Linked DNA regions of Homo sapiens: regions 2, 3 and 4 are each linked to region 1. The links are contacts of gene promoters, found by promoter capture Hi-C in human tissues and cell types (Jung and others, 2019). All regions are on one chromosome and are shown on one strand. The core of a region is centred on a gene start or on the middle of the fragment in contact, and the rest is flanking DNA. Distances in the headings are between cores, read along the strand shown. Region 1 holds the start of ZNF18 (zinc finger protein 18). Region 2 overlaps DNAH9 (dynein axonemal heavy chain 9). Region 3 has its middle 12 kb from the start of DNAH9. Region 4 overlaps SHISA6 (shisa family member 6).

Region 1 (2,881 bases), core at 19-2,518:
ACATGTCGAATCCCTTTTCCGCTGGTCACTTTTCAGGTACATGAAGATGTAATCCCATCCCCGCATCAAGCTTTATTTCTCCAGAGGAGGATCTTTAATTCTTGTAAACATGGGACAGGTACAGGACATGTTATGATAATGACAGGTACAGGACATGTTATGATAATGACAGGTACAGGACATGTTATGATAATGACAGGTACAGGACATGTTATGATAATGACAGGTACAGGACATGTTATGATAATGACAGGTACAGGACATGTTATGATAATGACAGCTCTTCTTTAAATTTTTATTTTTTATTTATTTTATTTCCATAGGTTATTGGGGAACATGGCAGCTTTTTTTGAATACCCTCCTCTTTGCCAGTTGCCCAAGGTGGAACACCCAAACTTTGACATGATACTTCCATTAATGCAACTTAGTATCACAAGTTGATGTCGTGGCCCAGCACAGGATGGCCTGGAAACCGGCAACACTGGACGCTGGGGAAAGGGTAAGAAGGTCTTGACCATTACAAATGGTGTGGAACTGAGCCGAGGGAGGGATAGTGAGAAGGGAGAGAGGGTGAGGTGTCTGAGAGACAATGAGGTCAAATCAGAGGATTCAGCCATTGTTGGCGTGTGGGAAAGGGAAGGAGAAGGGAAGAGTCAGGGATGACATTTGTTGAGAGAGAGAGAGAGAAGAGAGAGAGACGCAGGTGGAAAGAGGATGGCACCACATTGGACTAGCCCCAACGGAATGGGGAGAAGTGGGAGAGGACCCAGGGGATGCAGAGCTGATGAGAGTGGGAGAACCAAGACAGAGGAAGAAGGTTGGGGCAAATCAAGTGTCTCAGGGAGGCCCAGTGAGGCAAGAACGGAAAGGAGAAAGGCGGCGGTTAAGAATCAGGGATAATGGCAGAGCGTTGCAGCTCTGCGGGTGGGACTGGGCGGAAGGGTTTGGGAGAGACAAAGAAATGATCTTTGAAGGCCTCGCAGTGCTTGGCCGAGTGCCTGGCACAGAATAGGTGCGCAATAAATGACGGGTGAGAAGTGAAGGAACTCAGGAACAGTGATTAGTGAGTGAGTGACGGAAGGAACGGAGGATGGCGTTGGCTCGGGAACCTCGCTGCCATGTCGGTGGAGGCTCCTGGGCTGCAACGCCAGAGAGAGGCGGGGCGTCCCCGACGGCCAATAGGAGCTTCGGTATCAGCTCCGCCCCCGCCCCCTAGCTCCGCCCGGTGCCGCACGTCGTTCGCCTGCCGCCTGAGGCGCGCGCAGCCACCCAGCTCCCGGAAGTGCGCCCGGAGCCGGCGCCGCGGGCCGAGGTGAGCGCGCTTGCGGGGCGGTCCCGGCCTCCGGCCGCTCGGGGTCAGGCCTTGCGCTATCTGCGTCCGCACCTGACTCAGCTGGGCACCCCGGAGCTACGGAGGGGCCAGCGGGCTCCCTTGCCCATGCGTCTGGGAGCGCGCGGGGGACGTGGCGAGTGCGGGGCCGGGGCAGCCATGGCTGGGAGTGGACCGTGGGTGCGGGGGGATGTGTGAACCCCGTCCCGGCTCTGCATTCCTGCGCCTCTGCGCCCCGCGGGACCGGCCGGGTCTCTGCACTGGGACCGAAAACGGGCTCCTCCCCGCTGTCTTCCCCTAAGGGCTGAAAATGAGTCTCTGGAAGAGGAAACCCGATGGGATGATGCCTGGAGTCTCTCCCTCTCTCATCAGAGTGCAGTCGGCATTTGGGGGGCGCATGGTGGAGAATACATATCCAATGAGCAGCGCTGCCCTGGCCTCGAGCACTAAATGCCAGTTCCCCTAGCTGCTTGTGACAACCAGAAAACGCCCCAACAAATCACCAGACGTTGGCAGTTCTCCCCAAAGCAAAGGCTTTAGAGCTTCCTGGGTTAATCTGGCTGCCACTTGTGAGCCTCGGAGGTTCCTGATCTGTACACCAGGGTAATTGTGGGAATTGGAAATACATGAACCGAGCTTAATAATGAGCCGATACGTAGTAGGTGCTTAACAAATGGTTACTTATATATGTAACCATGTATGTAACCACTTGTGTATATTACACCTAGAATGCACTTTTAAAAATTCATTCTATTTGTTAAAGGTTTAATAACAGGTATAACAGACAACCTTATTTTTTTTTCATAACTAATGGGGGCAGTTCCTCATGAGGTTATCGGAATATAAACTCTATTAAATTTTTAATACTATATAAAGTAATTTAATTTTGAATAATCGAGACATTTTTCTTACACACTACCTGGGAGTATAATATTACTAACAAAAGATTTAAGTATTTTATAAAATCTGTAGTTTTTCCAAAATGTCATTTCTCTTAAATATTATCTAAACTGCTATCTTAATTTAGGAAACAGATAAATTGCAGTAAGTTTACAGGTCGGTATCTTGCTATCTAAAATCTTGCCGCTTGTTATTTGAAACTCTTGAGCCAAATAGGTTGGATTTACAAAGCAAGGTATTTTTAAAAATATATTTATTCGTTTTTTAAGATGTTATTTGAAACTGTAGGTTTACCTCTGAGCTAAAGCTGCTTTTCAGGTGGTTTGATAATGCTGTCATTGTCACTCAGTATGAAAACATATTTTAATTTCCTTTGTGATTTTTTTCTTTGACTATGGGTTAAGAGCATTATTTAGTAATTTCCATAAATTGGGATTTTCTAGTTATTGTTATTGATTTCTACTTTAATTGCACTATGATCAGAGAATATATTTGAACCCAGGAAGCTCTAAAGTTTTCCATTTGACCTTTCTGGTTTTGTTTCTCTTGTGTTCCTTTTCTATCAGATATTGGGTTTTTGAGTGTTTTTTGGTATTGCTTTAATGGCTTTTTAGCAATACCACTTTGCGTAATATTTTTAGAGCTAATTTT
Region 2 (2,869 bases), core at 27-2,526, 390 kb after region 1:
TGTCATTTAGTCTGTTCCCAAGAGCAATCCCCATGTGGCCTGCATGGCTCAGTGTCCTCTTCTGGGCTGTGAGTATGTTGACTGAAAAACTGCTGTCAATGGTGTCTGTCCTATGTTGGGTGTTGTATGTTTACCCATCTCCATCACTCTCAGGCAGGAATCCCTCCCTCATCAACGGGGTGAATAGGAGGTGATTAAATAGTCACAAAGGCCAGAGGCAAAAAAGGAGGACACAAGCAGATAAACATGACCTTCTGTCTACAGGTGGTGGGAAGGGCACCTTGAAAAGGCAAGCAAAGTTGAGGATCTTGAATCCATCTTTAGGGTGAACGTTAGGTTATTCTGGCCACCCAACATAGTTCCTCTTTTTTCAGTATTCATCCCCAAATCCATAGGTGAACATGGAACCAAATCTGAGCCAGTGAGAGTCAGGCCAAAGTGTCTTATGTGACTTTTCAAGGAAGAGACACCTTCTCTTTTCTGCTAGTGTGGAGCTTTTCTTGGTCACCTTCACAACCAATAGCGCCTTAGAATAAAGTTAATATGAGAGGAGAGTGCTTACAGATGGAGAAAGACCAAGTCTTGGTAACTTTGTTTGAGCTCCTAAATCAAGCTGCTCTTGAACTTTCCAAGCTAGTTTAAATTAGGTTTCTATTAATCGCAACTTAGAAACTTGTCAGTATACCGAGGTGGGCAGATCACGAGATCAGGACATCAAGACCATCCTGGCCAACATGGTGAAACCCTGTCTCTACTAAAATACAAAAAATTAGCCGAGTGTGGTGGCACGTGCCTGTAGTCCCAGCTACTTCAGGAGGCTGAGGCAGGGGAATCGCTTGAACCCGGGAGGCGGAGGTTGCAGTGAGCCGAGATTGCACCACTGCATTCCAGCCTGGAGACAGAGCAAGACTCTGTCTCAAAAAAAAAAAAAAGAAAAGAAAAGAAAAGAAAAGAAAGAAAGTTGTCAGTAAACTCACCCGGAATCTTTGACTGTCAAAATCTCACAAGTGATGGAAGGAGAATACCAGAAAGACAAACAGATGCTCATATAATGTGATGAGGAAGCTACCAATATATAAATAATCAAAAGGAAATATGAACTCATATGACTGGCTGGGTTATGATCAATAAGCCCCAGTGGCCGTGAAATAGAATACCTGGACCCAGCATGTTAGATTCTAGAGGATGGTCTTTGCCTGGTCTGTCTGGAAACATTCACTGAGCTGGGAACTTACAACAATCAGTAAAGGGAGCTCAAAAAGGAAGGAAAGTTTACAAATTAAGCTTTATCACATTCATGTTAAGAAAGAACCATTTGAACCCAGGGCAGAAGTCCTAACCGGGAAAGAGGATGAACTGGAATTTTCCTAGGATCTCAAAGGCAGGGACTCTATCTTATTTAATTTTTATATAGTCAGAGTTCTCTCCAGGATCTGGCATATAGAAAGCACTCAAGATGTTTATCAAATAACTGAATGTACACTGTCTGAAGAAAAAGGAATAGTTTTGAGTGGGGGTTTTAAGGGCTTTGAGTGACAGAAAAATAACGAATGTGAACTCTCTATGAAGTGAAAAGCAACTCATAGCCAGGTGCGGTGGCTCACGCCTGTATCCCAGCACTGAGAGGCTGAGGAGGGCAGATTGTTTGAGCCCAGGAGTCGGAGACCTGCCTGGGCAACATAGCAAGACCTCATCTGTACAAAAAAAAAAATAGAAAAATTGCCCGGTTGTAGTGGCGCATGTCTGTAGTCCCAGTTACTAAGGAGGCTGAGGTGAGAGGATCGCTTGAGCCCAGGGAGGTCGAGTCTGCAGTGAGCTGAAATCGTGCCACTGTACTCCAGCCTGGGCAACAGAGTGAGACCCTGTCTCGAAACAACAACAACAACAACAACAACAACAACAACAACAGACCAAAAAGCTACTCATTCATTTATTCAATGAGTATTTACTGAGCATCTATTATGTGCTGGTACTTTTCTAGGTGCTAGGAGGATACACCCGTGAACAAAACAGTCAAAAATTTCTGACCTCATGAAGCTTATATTCTAAGGGAGAGACAGTCAAGAAACAGTAAGTTCTGTGAATAAAGATAAAGCATGTGAAGGGAATCAGGAGTGTGGGGTGGAGGGGCTGCAATTGTAAATGTTGAGGTTGGCCTGACTGAGAAGATAAGATTTGAACAAAGGCTGGGAAGGATAGGGGGAGTGCTTTGCAGATCCTTGGGAGAAGTATATTGCAGGGAGAAGGAACAGCCAGTGCAAAGGCCCCGAGGTGGAAGCATGCTTGGTCTGATCAAGGAGCAGTGTGGAAGCAAGGAAAGCGGGGACAGAGTGATCCCAAAGAATAGGTGAGAGTAAAGGGAGTCAATTCACATGCAGCCTTGCCTGTGAGATTTTGATTTTTACTCTCAGAGAAATGGACATCATTGAAAGTTTTGAGCAAAGGAGTGCCATAGGCTGAGATCGTTTTGAGTAGGATCAACCAAGCTGCCGTGATTATAGGCTCTAAGGGGCAAAGGTGGAAAGGGAGGCCACCTACCAAGTTGGTGCTATAATACAGAAGACGGTGGTGTGGCACAGTGGGTAGTGGGGGAGATGGTAAGAAATGGCCTGATTCCATACAAATTTTGAAGGTATAGCCAATAGGATGTGTTAACAAATTGCTTTAGGAGTCGCAAGAGAAAAAAAAAGGGTCAGGATGACTCTAAGATCTGTGGCTTGAACAACGGGAAGAATGGAGTTGCTGTCAACTGATGTGGGGAGGAGTAAAGGTGGAGTAAGATCTTCAGAGAAGATACAGGAGCTTTTGTTTGCACATGTTAAAATGTAGTATCTCGATTGGACTTTAAGATAGAGATGTTGAGTAGGCA
Region 3 (2,899 bases), core at 25-2,524, 410 kb after region 1:
ATTTTGGTATAGATTCAAAGGCAAGCAGAGGAGTGGGAAAGATTTGTAGCAGAAAGAAGGGAAGGCTTCATGTGTGCCCTGATTGGAGGCCTTTGGCCTGTGGAAGCTGGAGTTGGTTCAGTGGAAGCAGAACATCCATGTGATTGGTTAGGGGAACTTGTTTGGCTTTCGTCAGTTGGCCCTAAGTTTGGGGACAAAAATTAGAGAAGATACCAAATTTTTTTTGAATATAATATTTTTTACTTGAACCCCCACAACTCCACCTCTTCCAGAAGCTATCAATTATTAATCAAATCCTGACCATTTGAGTCAATAAATACAGGGGTTCTTGTTTGACCTCCTAGACTGGCTGCTACAGATTGTGAGGTGAGTTCTATTTTTTATATATGGCTTAGCCATTGTTCATTTGTCTATTTTGTCTCTCAGTCTTTTTTTTTTTTTAATCTGAGTTTTGAGACCATGGAAAATGTACCTTCATACGGCATTAATATGACTATCTACTGACTTCTAATATGTACTTCCCATAATTTGATCAATGTTCAGTCTCAGTGGTTTATGGGAGTTTCTGTTTCTGATTGTAGAAAGGTGATGAGAATGGAGAACGTGGGGTATGGTTAAGCTGGAGGAGAGGAGGGTAAAATATTATTTTGACTCCTTCTCATACTTAGGACCCATGATTAACAATCAGGGGTTAGCAAACTATAGCCCATGGGCTAAATTCAACCCACCAGCCAATACTGAAAATACAGTTTTATTGGAACACAGCCATGGCTATTCATTTATACATTATCTATGACTTATTTCACACTGAAAGTGCAGAGTTGAATAGTTGTAATTATGCAGAGAATGTATGGCCCACAAGACCTAAAAAATTAATTATCTGACTCTACAGAAAAAGTTTGCTGACTTCTAGTTTGGATTAGAAACTACCAAATCTCACAGTTGAGAAGGACTCAAGATGGGAAGGATATAAAGCAGCCTCAGTTTCATTAAATAAAACTCAGAAGTGCTTTGCTGTAACAAATCCATACACTCTTCTTCTAGTAACTACTCACCACTTTTTGTTGTGGAAACTATATCCACCTTCTTGACAGCCTCCTTCCCCGCCCTAGTCCAGGTACTTCTGGTAGGGTTCAACCCCCAGTACTATGGCTGAAGCATGTGACTTGGCCTAAACTTGGATCATTCTTTCTTCTGGTCACAGTCATCAATGTGGTAATGGCCATATGATCCTATCAGGACATTAGAGTCAGACCTAAGCTTTGGTTTGAATGTTGGAATAAACTAGTATTTTCTATTTTCCACTGGACTTGAACCTAGGAGGATGTAGGACAGAGCCAATGTGACCCTCTTGACTCCATGAGGGGAAGGGTTATCTGAAAATGGAGCCAAGACAAGGGAAGTAGAGGCAAGGGACAGAGAAGAGGAAGCAGTTCCTGATGACATTTTTTTTTTTTTTTTGAGACAGAGTCTCACTCTGTCACCCAGGCTGGAGAGCAGTGGTGCAATCTCAGCTCACTGCAACCTCTGCTTCCTGGGTTCAAATGATTCTCCTGCCTGAGCCTCCAGAGTAGCTGGAACTACAGGTGCATGCCACCATTCCCGGCTAATTTTTTGTATTTTTAGTAGAGACGGTGTTAGCCAGAGTGATCTCAATCTCCTGACCTCGTGATACGTTCGCCTTGGCCTCCCAAAGTGCTGGGATTACAGGCGTGGGCCACCGCGCCCGGCCCCTGATGACATTTTTGAGCTCTACATGCAGCCTGCAAGACTAGACTTTTCATTTGCATAAACCAAGACATTCTCTCTCCAGTTAGCCAGTTTGAGGTGTTTCTGTCCCTGTTAAACAAAAATTACAACTGATGCAGGTGACACGTAAAGAAAAATTTCTTCAAGAACGAGGAGAGATGATGTTTATTTATAAAGGAGAAGGAGGCCATCAAGGAGGTAGTTGAGAGCGAGAACATAAAAGAAGATATTTCCTGAAATAACTTCTATCGGAGATGTAAAGGGTAAACCTTCAATTGCTTTGCTTAGCACATAATGACCCCAGATCACAGACTTAGCTCTTGATTTTCACCCTGCTTTTGAATTAAGGCAGTAAGCCAGAAATTAATATGGGCAGATTTCCCTGTGTTTATTCACTGTTCAATGTTTAATTCCCAGAAGGATGAAAGAAATACTTACTTAATTAAATGTGCTAAACAATAACAACCCTCGCTTGCTTTTCACCTGTACTTGTCTTACAGAAATATGCTATGAAGAGTTGATGAAGCTATTTTTAAAACAAATTCCACACACTACTTAATTATAATAATCTATAGAGTGTAACTGTACATTTCCCACCCTAGGATACGGGTGGGCAGAACAAGAAACAGTGCAGAAAACACACCTTCTTCTCCTTTTTGTGATTGCAGGAATTCTTGGGGGTTGATGTCAACTTTCCTTCTTAGATGTAATCCCCTTGATTTGGGAGGAAATCACACATCTTATAGGTCAAGAGAGTCAACTCTTCTGGTGGTACTGGGATTATAAATTTGTGAAATATATGAAATATTCATTTGCAAGTACATGAGTAAATGAATTAATAGATGCACTATCAAAAGCATGAAAAAGTATGTTCACCTCTGAGCTGGCCAGGTGAGCCCAAGTATTTTCAGGACGCAATAGACTATTGTCCACTGAGAGTAGTTTTCCAGAGGTAACAGATGAATGCCCTTTGGGTATGCTGCCCTATATTCTGGTGGTTCTCAAGTGCAGCCACACACTAAAATCATCTGGGGATATTTTTAAAGTACCAATAGTCAAGGCCCCATTCTAGAGCAACTGAAGCAGTGTCTGGCAATAGGGGCCAAGCCTTGGTACATGTTAGGAGACCTTCAGGGGATTCCAATGTATT
Region 4 (2,854 bases), core at 13-2,512, 440 kb after region 1:
AGATTCGGACAGGATGACAGGAAATGTATGTGGGAGGTAACATGCCAGCTCTTCTCAGGGCAGGCACCTTCTGGAGTCCGAGTGATTGGCAGCCCTTTCATTTTACCTTGGGTCAAGTGCACAGTTGCCTGTGGAAGGAATATGAAGTTGGAGGCTGGTGACAGACAAGGTATCTCTGAAGAAAATGGATTGAGTTTGATGGCAGGGATGTTGGCATGGATATTCCTCCATGCTTGGAGACTCAGGAGGCCCTCAAGTCTTTGTGGACAAAGGAGGATAAGTGACATACACAAGCAGGAAGGGGGCAAGTGTGTTGGAGCAGTGGCTGAGAGCCCTCAAGGATAGGAGTCTTTGGCCAGAGCAGGAGCTTCTGGGCTAACATCAGGCTGGGTTGGGAGCTTCAGGGGACTTGCTAGTGGCAGGAACCAAACTGACTATCACAGGCCATGACATCTCAAACCCAGAGCTCCATTCCCTTCCCTCCCAGAGCTCAGAGGGGAAAAGCCCTTGGCTCCGTGCACTGGGGTATCAACTCACAGGGGCAGGAGATGAAGGATACACCAGTGAGGCAAACAGAAGACCGAAAGAATGTCTTATTCTTCCATTGTTTTCATTGAGAGCTCTGATTTTTAGAGCTGGAGATTATAGCAAGACCAGGGAAAAGAAATTAGGAATGGAGGAAGGTGAATGGAGGAAGGTAGATGGAGGAAGAGGGAGATGAGAGGAAGGAATGAGTGACCTGGCCTGGAAATCTGAGGTTTTCTGGAAATCAGGAGTTTCTGGGAGGGAGAGTGGAAAGAGGGGAGGAGAAATTTGAATTGGGGGCAAGGTTGGAACTTTCTAAGAGGCAGTCGTGTGGCCCAAGACACTCCCAAGACACTGGGGGAGCCCTGAGGGCAGAAGCCTGGTTAGGAGGTGAAGTAATTCTTGGCAAAGCCTTTTTGACACAGGAAGGCATGGAGCCAGGAGCCTGGAGCAAGACAGGGAAGGTGGAGATGCAGGAGGGATTGTGAAAGCTTCAATGCCATCAGAGGCCAAGGAAACCAGGCAGAACTTTCAGGGCAGGAGAGAACCTGTGCAGATTCCAGTTCATTTCTGTTAGAGCAACAGAGATGTGCAAAAATGAATAAAACAAGGAGAGGGAAATCTTGGGCTTTAGGCTTCCTTTGTGAGCAGGAGGGAGGCTTTTACTGTAAGGGTGGATGGTACTTCTATGTATGGTAGAGGCCACCAGCCTGGTTGGGCTAGAAATCATGGCATCTAGGTTCCAGCCCCAGAAGCCTCTTTTATCTGCTACGTGAACTTGCCTATTGATGTGGCTTTGCTTGTTCCATGAAGATGGATGGGACAGCTGAATAAATGGGATACCTCTCTGTCCCAGCTATGACATAGTTTTCTGGATTTTGAAATGTGGGACTGAATTGGAGCAAGTCTGTAGACCTATCTCTACTTCTTTTTTCTTCCCTCCTCCCCTCCCTCCCTCCCTCTCTCCCTCCCTTCATTCCTTGCTTCTAGACCCAAAGGTGAAGCAGAAGAAATCCTTGAAAAGAAGTAAGCATTGCAGTAGAATTTTCCAACCCAACTGACATCAGAGCCTTTCAGCCAGACAGTGGTAAGGCTGGGATGAGAAATGTCTTGGAATCAACTCATCAACAACCCCTGAGAGAGACAGAAACCCTGTCAGAGACAGGGCTTGGGGAGGACCCCTGGGGAAAAGTGTCACCCTGGGGGCTGGAGAACTTGGTGCTGAGAAGCTTTGACACTGGAGATGGGATCAGCTTTCTGGTTTGGTGTATACCTGCATGTAGACACCTGGGAAGGGCATTCTCAGCCACTCAGGTCCTTTCCCCTCACCACCAGCATCCTGCCTTCCAAGGGATGGCCACAGATTAGACGATTCAAAGGTGCTGGGCTCAGGGGCCCAGCTGGGAGCCACCTGCTCTATTCAGACTCACTTCTTCCTTTCCAACCCTCTTAGCCTCACCTTCTGGAACAAACTCTTATAAACCCCTGGGGACCAGCCCTTAAGAAGGTTTATGTGTCTGTTGGGAGGAAAGCAGAGAGGGTAGTCCCTGGCCTTCCAGCCGCACGACTCCAGGAATGCATCCCCAGTGTGGGGTCTGACAGTGGCTTTCACAACCCCCAGCCTCCATCCCCCTAAGATCCAGGGTGATGGTTTCCTGTTCCTGTTGGGAGGCACACCCTGCAGAGGGGAGAAGGAGATGAGAGCTTTGGAACTCTTGAAATCAGTGAAAGGACACAGTCCATTGCTTTCTCTGTGGTTTGTGGACTTGGTTAGATTAAAAATCTCCAGGGCTGACACCAATAAATTCTCCTTCTACACTCGCCTTTTTAAAGGGCCATGAGTGCAGAACTGAGGGCAGGTAAAACCCCATTTATAAGGGCACTGCTGTTGGATCTGACTGTTTTTAGGATCACACCTTCACCCAATAGCCTGGAGTTGATTCCCCCAGCCCCAACCCAGCGGGTGCCCTGGCCCTGAGAATGAGGGAACCCCTTCTTTCCCCCACCAGGCTCTCTGGTCTTGGGGGAGCGGATGCTGCTGAATTCACTGTCACCTCCCCAGGAGGCCGTCACACCATGCCAACCCCCAGGCTGGAGGCGGGGAAGAGGCTGAGGTGGGCGGGCAGTGGCGGTCCCCCAACAGAGCTGAGGACCATGGTCTACCAGGTACCCCAGTGCCTGCACAAAGGGATGATGCTGTGGGGACCTGCCCAGTTAGCCCCTAGGCCAGTCGCCTGGAGGACCTTTGTTTGCTTTTGCTAATAGGTCTTTGTCCCTTTGATCCAGAGGAGGCACGGATCTGAAGGATCAGCTAGGAGGAATAAAGTTG

The links. Contacts are between HindIII fragments. The study calls those that stand out against the background at their distance.
Region 2: a fragment that was not itself captured here is called in contact with the fragment with the promoter of ZNF18 in region 1 in 1 of the 25 tissues and cell types used here (H1 embryonic stem cells).
Region 3: a fragment that was not itself captured here is called in contact with the fragment with the promoter of ZNF18 in region 1 in 1 of the 25 tissues and cell types used here (spleen).
Region 4: a contact is called between a fragment that was not itself captured here and the fragment with the promoter of ZNF18 in region 1, in 1 of the 25 tissues and cell types used here (heart left ventricle).

What each region holds. Positions count from the first base shown.
Region 1 is chr17:11,995,862-11,998,742 of GRCh38, reverse strand. ZNF18 (zinc finger protein 18) reads left to right here and starts at 1,268. Exons shown (of 7, transcript NM_001303281.2): 1 at 1,268-1,312. RefSeq lists enhancers at 700-779, 850-1,089, 204-1,187 and a silencer at 1,120-1,569. The HindIII fragment of the contact is 7,782 bases long and covers 1-2,881 here.
Region 2 is chr17:11,604,517-11,607,385 of GRCh38, reverse strand. All of the region lies in intron 1 of DNAH9 (dynein axonemal heavy chain 9), which reads right to left. Among named protein-coding and RNA genes, the nearest start is that of DNAH9, 7.5 kb to the right of the region's middle. The HindIII fragment of the contact is 5,283 bases long and covers 1-2,869 here.
Region 3 is chr17:11,585,459-11,588,357 of GRCh38, reverse strand. No RefSeq gene overlaps it. Among named protein-coding and RNA genes, the nearest start is that of DNAH9, 12 kb to the left of the region's middle. The HindIII fragment of the contact is 7,192 bases long and covers 1-2,899 here.
Region 4 is chr17:11,559,555-11,562,408 of GRCh38, reverse strand. It overlaps SHISA6 (shisa family member 6), which reads right to left. Exons shown (of 6, transcript NM_207386.4): 6 at 1-2,854. Among named protein-coding and RNA genes, the nearest start is that of DNAH9, 37 kb to the left of the region's middle. The HindIII fragment of the contact is 4,369 bases long and covers 1-2,854 here.